2 separate regions of the Homo sapiens genome follow, and region 2 is linked to region 1. Evidence: promoter capture Hi-C in human tissues and cell types (Jung and others, 2019). All regions are on one chromosome and are shown on one strand. The core of a region is centred on a gene start or on the middle of the fragment in contact, and the rest is flanking DNA. Distances in the headings are between cores, read along the strand shown.

Region 1 (4,386 bases), core at 887-3,386:
GTCTAAAGAAATCAGCCAGTGGCTAGAGAACAGCTTGCCCTTGCATCTAGGGTAAACAAAAAAGTAAAGTATCATTTAGGGTTCTTTGTAAGCCACACAAGCCAAATGGGGCTAACTAAATCAAACCAAAATTAATGGGAATTCTTTGAGCCTTCTACAGAAGGAAAAAGTAATCGTAGCTCCAGAAGAAAAAGTATCAGGGAGGTGCTGAGTTCATCAGGGCCTCATGGGCAGTCCCTTTTGGGTACTGCTGATATGATTTGACTGTGTCCCCACCCAAGTCTCATCTTGAATTGTAACTCCCATAATTCCCAAGTATTGTGGAGGGACCTAGTGGGAGGTATTTTCATCATGGAGGCAGTTTCCCCCATACTGTTCTCATGGTAGTGAATAAGTCTCACTAGATCTGATGGTTTTATAAGGGGTTTCCCTTTTCGCTTGGCTACGATTTTTCTCTCTTGCCTGCTGCCATGTAAGATAATGCCTTTTGCCTTCCGTCATGATTGTGAGGCCACCCCAGCCAGGTGAAACTGTAGGTCCATTAAACCTCTTTCCTTTATAATTATCCAGTCTCGGATATGTCTTTATTAGCAGCATGAAAACAGACTAATACACTGCCATCTGAATAACTCAGCTGCCACCATGCCCATTCTTAAGTCATTCCACTCAAGATTAAAATTCCACAGGAGAAAAGTAAAAGGACTATCTTAGACCGGGTGTTGACCCACTTGGTTAGAAGAAAAGGCATATGCTGATCAACAGCCCCACCATGATCTCAGGTAATAGATAGGAGTCATTCTCCAAAGGTAGGGTGAACACATGTTAGAGTGTTGCCCTGGACAGTCCCAGTTTATAACTGTTTTTTTTTTTTGGGGAGTAACCATAAATAGCATCACTTTTCACCTGCACAAAACTGTCCAAGTTTGGATCATAAATTGCATGATCAATTTACACAAAGGAAATTTAGGGCATCGTTACCAAAGTAGCAATGCTGAGCAGAGACAAATAGCTACCATTACAATGAGGCTATTAGAAGGGGTCAAAACAGAGTATTTTGCCCCCAGTCTCTCACAACCAAAAGATGATAACCAGAGTCAAAAGTCCCTATTGGTCTTTAGGTTTTGACTACAGCATGAAAATAACATTCCTATACTCAAGTGTTGAATTATTATGACTTTGACCCAATAGTTCCGGTCCCTTTTCTTCCTATGTCCTTGCAGCTAAGCCACTAAATGTTAAGGTGTTCTCTTTCACTGCTGCTTTTTTAGCTTAATTGGCCCTCCTGCTTTCCAAAATAGAATGCTAACACCCATTCACCCAGCTGAAGGGTCAGGGTGATACCAGATCCAATATTCCCCAAAGCCTGTGTAGGCTGGTTGCTGTATCCCTGACTACTGATTAATAATAAAGGAGTTAAATAGCACCTTTTGATTCTGATTTCCTCTGAGAGGCTGTTCTACAAGCATGGGGTCAACTAAAAGGAAGCAGGGTTTCGTTTAATATTTTCTCCTTTCATTAGTGCACTTAAATTACTTTCTTGTAAACTCTGCTTGTTACCTAAATGTACTAGCACTTTTGTTACCTAATTAAGTTTCTTATCAGAATTCCAACCAAAAATAACAAGAAATGTAATAATGATAAGATATCGTGCCCTTCAAAACAGATTTCCTTTTGCGCTTTATCTCTTGGTACTGTTCTGGCTTGTTTAATTAAAGTATCAGAAATTATTAGACTCAAATTATTTCTTGATCTAGTGCTCAAATTCTCCCGAAAACCTGCTTCTTCTGCCTCAATATTTAAACCTTTATCAGTATGAGGCAGATGAGTTTCCACATGTTTGCAACTGGATTCATGTAATTCAATACAATTTTGGAGGACGATCCTAATTTAGCCGCTAAGTAATTAAGCAAACAAATCAGATTTGGGTACACTGAGCTACTGTGAACATTTAAATACTCATGCTCTTGGATCATCAAAAGGAACAACGTCCATGTGCAAAAAACAAACCTTATGAAATTCTAGCATGGAGATGTGAAATTCAAAGCAACGTTCTTATTTTTTTCATCAGAGGGATGGGGCTCAAAATATCACCAAGTTCAAACCACTAACATAAGTTTTGTTCAAGGAGGGTAGTCATGTCTGTTACAGGCTTTACCATAACTGATGAGAAAGTACACTTATATCACAGCATTGAGAAGGAGAAAACTGTAAGACATATTGGCGATTTGTGTTCCTCACACTCTGTGAAAAAAATTCAGGTTGGAATCTGCTTGCTTCTGGTGGAGCTGTGTGAGAGGTTCACGTTCTTTGAAGTCGTCTGCAACATGATCCCCTTTTGCACTATCAAGCTTGGCTATCACAATTGCCAAGCAGCCATCTTAAACTTGTGTTTTATTGGAACTTCAATACTTACCCCTGTGTTTGTCAGATGGCTCACTGATGTCTATTTAGGAAGAAACAAACTGGTGTACATTTGCTTGTTTCTACATTTTCTAGGTGAGTGTCCTCTGCTGACTGGATTGTTTTGTGACTTAATTAAGTAGATTTTTGTTAGAATTTTTAGTTTATATTATTTTCACTCTGCTCTTAGCATAAAATGTGATAAATGAAGTAAGAATGTGGGTTCAATGTATTTCATTCTTTGTACTATTTGAAGAATGCTAGTAAGTCTGTGTGTGTGTGTGTGTGTGTTAGAGAATGTTTTGTGCCTATATCATTGCATTTATATTTTATAATAATTACTCCTTTACATATCTATCTTACTCCTTAGAATGCCCTCCTTTCCCAAAACCTTTTTACCTCAAGCCTAAATTCATGACAAATTCCCTCAGAAATGTGAAATGTATTTGCTTCACAACTAAGATGAAATGTGCTAAAAAAGGTTTTTGAAGTTCATGTAAAATAATTGAGAAATGTTTTTATCCAAAGGTGGTCTTTTAATTAGTCATATAGTAATTAAGATTGCATATGATGGCATGATTTCTATATTTTTAACTATGATTATATGCTTTAGAAATGAGTAAATTAGACACTATAGTGTGCATCTTTACATATATACTAATATATATCTGCAAAAGTTTGGGACCGATTGTGAGAAATGCTGGGAAAATATCAAGATAGTTTAATAAGAAATAGAGAGCAACTTGAAGAACAGACTAGAATTTTAAACTGAAAAGTTCAAGTTATTCTTCTTAAGCAACAAGAAGTCTCTGAAAATATCATGAAAACAACATTTGAGAAATGCTATTCTGCAATACAGGATGGACAACCACAGTGAGGAATTAAATAGAGAGAGATCAGAAAATCTCAGGATGATGGTTTAAGCAATAAAGTGCCAATTCAGGAGAGAACAAGTGAAAAGCTGTAAGGCAACTAAATAAAGGTACAAATGTGATGGGGGTCAAAAATTAGCTCCAAGTTTCTGATCTGAGCAACTTGGGAATATAGCATGCTGTTCACCAATAATGAGAAGTGCAGCTGAAATGAGTATTGGTAGGGGGACAGATGAGAAAGAGATGGATAGATATCAGGTACTCAACATATCACACAATCTCAGGCAGGTGGTAAATTACCATTCAGAGAATCCATTGGAGTTTAAGTCAAACCTGGAAACTTCACAGCTTTAGTTCTGTGGAATAAAAACTAGGTCACTGCATGGCAAATAATCACTCAACATTCAACAAATATTTCTTATTGACTACTCTGTACCAGACATTATTCTGGGTCTGGAAATGCAATAGAGAAGAAAGTCGTCTGTTCCTGCTAAAGTTGACTTTTTGGTGCAGGGAGAGAGAAAATAAAAGAGGAAATAGATATGATGTCATGTGGCAATGAGTTAGGATGGAAAAATAAAGCTGGGTAGGGGGACAGGATGGAATGGATGGTGATGAGGCTGCTACTTGGTACCGAGAAAAAGTTTTCTGATAAGAAGACATTTAAGCAAATCCCAGACTAACTTACTCTGCTTACCTTGGTAACAGGCCACACCAGTAGCATTTGTTGACTTCTTGTTTAACATGGTAATTTCTATCAGTCTAAATTCTGAGGTCAGTCATCAGACAGGATGGAAATCCCAACTTTGGAATCTGGCAAACAAAAGACTTAAGTCAACTCTACATCCATTCATTTTTTTACTAAAAGTTATTTCTTTGTTGCCCTCCACTTACAGCTGCCATCAAATTCCAACTGTCACTAAATTTCAGAGGTTATATATAAGAAAGGTCTTCTGTCTGAATTGCTACTACCCTAGCTGAAAAAATGCAGCTTTCTTCTTTTTAACCATTCCAATGGCCTACTTACTCGGCTGCCAGTTCTCAGTCAGTCTCCAGCTTGTACTCCATTCTACCAACAACACTGACTTCCTGAACAAATAAATCTCTATATTGC
Region 2 (4,386 bases), core at 1,297-3,796, 45 kb after region 1:
CATATATATACACATATATACTTATAACATGTCGTGTTTTGTATATATTATGTATAAAAACATGCCACAAATAGGGGAAAACAATAAAAATAAAAAACATATGCCACCCTAAAAAGTGAGTGACAAATATCTTCCCCAAAGGCAGCAGATACATAAGACAATAAAATTATAGCTGTCTTTATGAGAGTAGTTCATGAACACTGAATGATATATTAACACTGAGCAAATTTCCTATCCTGGGAATTTGCCAAAATCATGGATCCAAAGGGAATTTCTCAAGGACTCCATAGAATTTCATACTTAAGGCTGTGAGCTTACATATCAGAAACTCAAACATCACACTACACATAGAAACCCATAGTTTTCTCAGCAAATAAATTTATACCTAAAGAATCTTATACCAATACCTAAAGAATCTTAACATGCCCACTTTTTTAGTATAAGTTCAGCTTCATTATGAAATCACAAGTGCAACCCTAATGTTTCAATAAATTCGGAATGTCTTTTATTTCATTGTAGACTAATTTGGAAAATTATTACATGGTTCAATAATAGCATAAATTATAAGAACTTCAAGACTCTTGTGGACTTGTCTGCAACCACACAGGCAGTATTAAAACACACATTATTTATCTGAATATAATATCTCCTATGCAACCATTGTGCTTTATCTTGTAAGTACAGATCTGCTAGAGGTTTAAAATGTGTACATTCTGATAAACTGCACTCTGCTTTGGGTGTGTTATTATCTCATACAAGTTAAGAATTAAAAATGGAGTGGATTAAATTTAGGTCGGAATCAAAGTTTGCTTTAAATTTTAAGAAAGTTAGTTTTCATTGGCACCAGAGTGCAGTAGCAAATAAGAAGCAAACATAGATCCTTAAATACTCTAAAATATGCTTTGCCCTAAAATACCTAGGTAAGAGTGCTATGGTTTGTATGTTTTTGTTCCCTCCAAAATTCATGTTGAAATTTATCCCCAGTACAACAGTATTGGGAGGTGTTGGTTTTGGGAGGAGAGTGAGTCATCAGTGTTCCACTGTCATAAATGGGATTAGGTGCTCTTATAAAAGGTCTTGATAGAATTCATTTCATTTGCTCTTCTACCTTCTGCCATGTGGAACGTGCCATCTTGGAAGCAGAAAGCAGCCCTCCCCAGACAACCAACCCTACCAGCACCTTGTCCTTGAATTTTCCAGCTTTTAGAACTGTGAGAAAAGAAATTTCTATTCTTTATAAATTACTCAGTCTCACACTTTTTTTGAATAACAGCACAAGCAAACTAAGACAATAAACTAAATATGTGTGCTTTGCTTGAAATTTTCTGGAGAACAGTCTTTCATTGGATTTTGCTAGATCAGGCCTGACAGTGTTATATGCTTGAGCAGTGCTTCTCATAGTTTAATTTGTATAAGAATCATCTAGAGACCTAGTTTAAATGCAGATTCTGAGTCAGTAGTTCCGGAGCAGAGCCTGAGATTCTGCATGTCTAACAAGCCCCCAGGTGATACCTACACTACTGGTCAGGGAGGACACTTTCAGTATCAAAGACAAAGAAAGTGGCCCAAAAGACGGCTCTCTCAAGTTTCATGCATGTGTATAGGCAGCAGTGGCCCAGGTAAAATGCCACAATTTCTCTCTAGGCCAGAACGAAAGTTCAGTAACAGGTAATAAAAGCGGATGACTAAACCAGGGGTTAGCCAATCACTACAGCTCATGGGCCAAATCTGGCCCACCGTCTGTTTTTGTATGACCTGCATGGTAAGAATGGTTTACACAGATGAACATTTGCAACTGATTTGATAATAGAAAACACCTTTAAACTCTAATTAATTGAAATTGCATCACCCTTCCAAAAGAAATAATTTTAAATTTTATCAATTTTAAAAATCATAGAAATTTATTTCTCTCTTGTTACGTAAGTACCTACTTATCCTCAATTTTGTTGTTTTTCTCACAAAGTCTGAAGTACTTATTACTGGCCTTTTACAGAGAAAAAAAATAGTGATGCTTGTCTAAACTTTTGCTGGTAATGCCATAAACTTTCCTTCATAAAATATAAGCATTTTTACATAGCACAAGTAACAATCAAAAAAATAAAAGTGCATGATAGTTGTAAAATCTAAATTACCTCAAATTAGTCAGGATAAGGGGTATCTTAGAAGGTACTCACAGAATTCAAATTCTGAAAGAAAACCAAAGAAAGCAACTTAAATTACTGTTGAGAGGTCTAGTGCTTTTCTTCCTTTCTTTCTTTCTCCTTCCTTCCCTCCCTCCCTCCCTCTCTTTCTTCTTTCTTTCTTTCCTTCTTTCTTTCTTCCTCTCTCTCTCTCTTTCTTTTTTTCTTTTTTAGACAGAGTCTAGCTCTGTAGCTCAGGCTAAAGTGCAGTGGCATGATCTTGGCTCACTGCAACCTCCACCTCCTTGGTTCAAGCAATTCTTGTGCCTCAGCCTCCCGAGTAGCTGGGATTACAGTTATGTGCCACCACACCCAGTTAATTTTGGTATTTTTAGTAGAGATGGGGTTATGTCATGTTGCCCAGGCTGGTCTTGAACTCCTGGCCTCAAGTGATCCTCCCACCTCGGCCTCCCAAAGTGCTGGGATTACAGCTACAAGCTGCTGCACCTGGCCAGAAGTCCATTGCTTTTCTGATGCTTATCCTTGTGTTACAATCTTTTTTTCCTAAACGGAAAGCTCTTCTCTCTTTCCATGGTGTTCTAAAATTTCATCTTATTGTACTTTGGTAAAGGTCTTTTTCAACCATTGTACTTTTGACCCAGGTGGGCTCTTTCAATTAGAAAAATTTTATTTTTAAAAAAAGTTTCCTTTCTTCCATTTTCTTTGTATTTCCTTTTGAACTCCTATTGATCAGATGTTGGACCTTCCTAAAATAACTCAGTAAGTCTCAATATTTTCTCTTCAAATCTATAAATGTGTTTGTTTGATTTTTATTGTTATTGCCTTTTTTGGTTTGTTGTTTCTCTATTTGTTTTGGAAATTTCTTTGACTTCATCCTGCAAATTTTCTGCTGAGTTTTGTATTTCAGAAGTCATATTTGGTTTCTAAGATTTCTTATTATTCTTTTTTCATAGCTACTTATTATTGATTGCATTAACTACAGATTACCCCCACTTCCTGTTTGCTTGTCTCCTTGTTTTTCACATGGGAAGCTTTTCTCCAATGTCTGGTGATCTTGGGATATCTATTCTTATAGATTGTAAAATAATAGTATTACTCAGGATGATATGACTTTGTACATAAGTGAGACTTATGGGGTTTCTCTGTAGAATGCCATTTGGCAAGGGAACCAGTCATATTATTATGAGAATCTCCCCCCAGCTATTATATGCAGCAATCTTTTAATGGAGTTATTCAGCTTATTGAGAGAAGATTTCTTCAGCCTCCTGCTTTGAGGCATACTTCCTAGTGCTGAAGGTGAGGTGTGGCTGTGTGCAGATAGGAATGGAGGATGTCTCATCATTCAAAATCTTAGTTTTTACCCATTTTCCATTTTCAGCCTCAGCCTTCTCTGAATCCAAAGTCACACCTATTTAAATTCTGAAAAGTAATCTCCAGTCTCTTACCAGAGGAGGAGATGGAACACATACTCACCTTGTTTCATGGGGATAGAATTGGAGACTTGACAATTTCACTGTTCAGTGCACAGACTTTCAACCAGTCCTTGCAGTTTTCCTTCTGAGTGTTACCCCACCTTCTGAAATACCTGGTGCCTTCAAGTCATGAGCTTCTAAATGATTCCTCAGGGGATTAGGAGGATTAGGGTCATGCTTCTTCAGTCTCTCACTCAGCTGTCAGTTTAGATTGTAGCTCCCTCATTTATTTTTCTAAATCAGTTATCACTTCTCTTTCCAATTTCTACATTTTTTTCAATTTTTGTCCACCATTGTTTTCTCTTTCTCTGACTTTTTACCTTTTCCAAATTTCTTTGCCATCATTTAACTAGAATGAGAAAGAAAATTAAAATTGTGTGGTCAATCAGCCACCTTAACTGGAAGTCCCTAAACTGCTCTAGATATTGGAATGTAGATAAAAATCTTCTTTTAGTGGAATAGGATCTTAAAAGTATTCTAAATCTGCATAGTTTTTTCCAACTTTCTTTTCCAACTTGCAAAGAATTTGCACCATTATGCACTATCTAATACCAAATTTTGTACAAAAGATACTTGAGAATTTTTAAGGTAAAGTGACTGGCCCACAGTTACGTAACTAATAAGAATCATACTGGTGGAGACTATTTAATTAGAAAAATACTTGGCCATTATCTAGGTCCTAAACCTTGAAGAACATAATTATGTAAAGTTTTTTTGTCTTTTTTTTTTTTGAGACGGAGTCTTGCTCTGCAGCCTAGGCTGGAGTGCAGTGG

The links. Contacts are between HindIII fragments. The study calls those that stand out against the background at their distance.
Region 2: a contact is called between a fragment that was not itself captured here and the fragment with the promoter of SLC15A5 in region 1, in 2 of the 25 tissues and cell types used here (heart left ventricle and neural progenitor cells).

Annotation. Positions count from the first base shown.
Region 1 is chr12:16,275,435-16,279,820 of GRCh38, reverse strand. SLC15A5 (solute carrier family 15 member 5) reads left to right here and starts at 2,136. Exons shown (of 9, transcript NM_001170798.1): 1 at 2,136-2,496. The coding sequence starts at 2,136. LOC101928362 (a long non-coding RNA gene) reads right to left here. Exons shown (of 11, transcript XR_001749028.1): 10 at 3,970-4,085; 11 at 3,296-3,628. The HindIII fragment of the contact is 12,619 bases long and covers 1-4,386 here.
Region 2 is chr12:16,230,881-16,235,266 of GRCh38, reverse strand. The region is part of intron 5 of SLC15A5 (solute carrier family 15 member 5); the gene reads left to right. It overlaps LOC101928362 (a long non-coding RNA gene), which reads right to left. Exons shown (of 11, transcript XR_001749028.1): 3 at 2,133-2,186. Among named protein-coding and RNA genes, the nearest start is that of SLC15A5, 45 kb to the left of the region's middle. The HindIII fragment of the contact is 8,576 bases long and covers 1-4,386 here.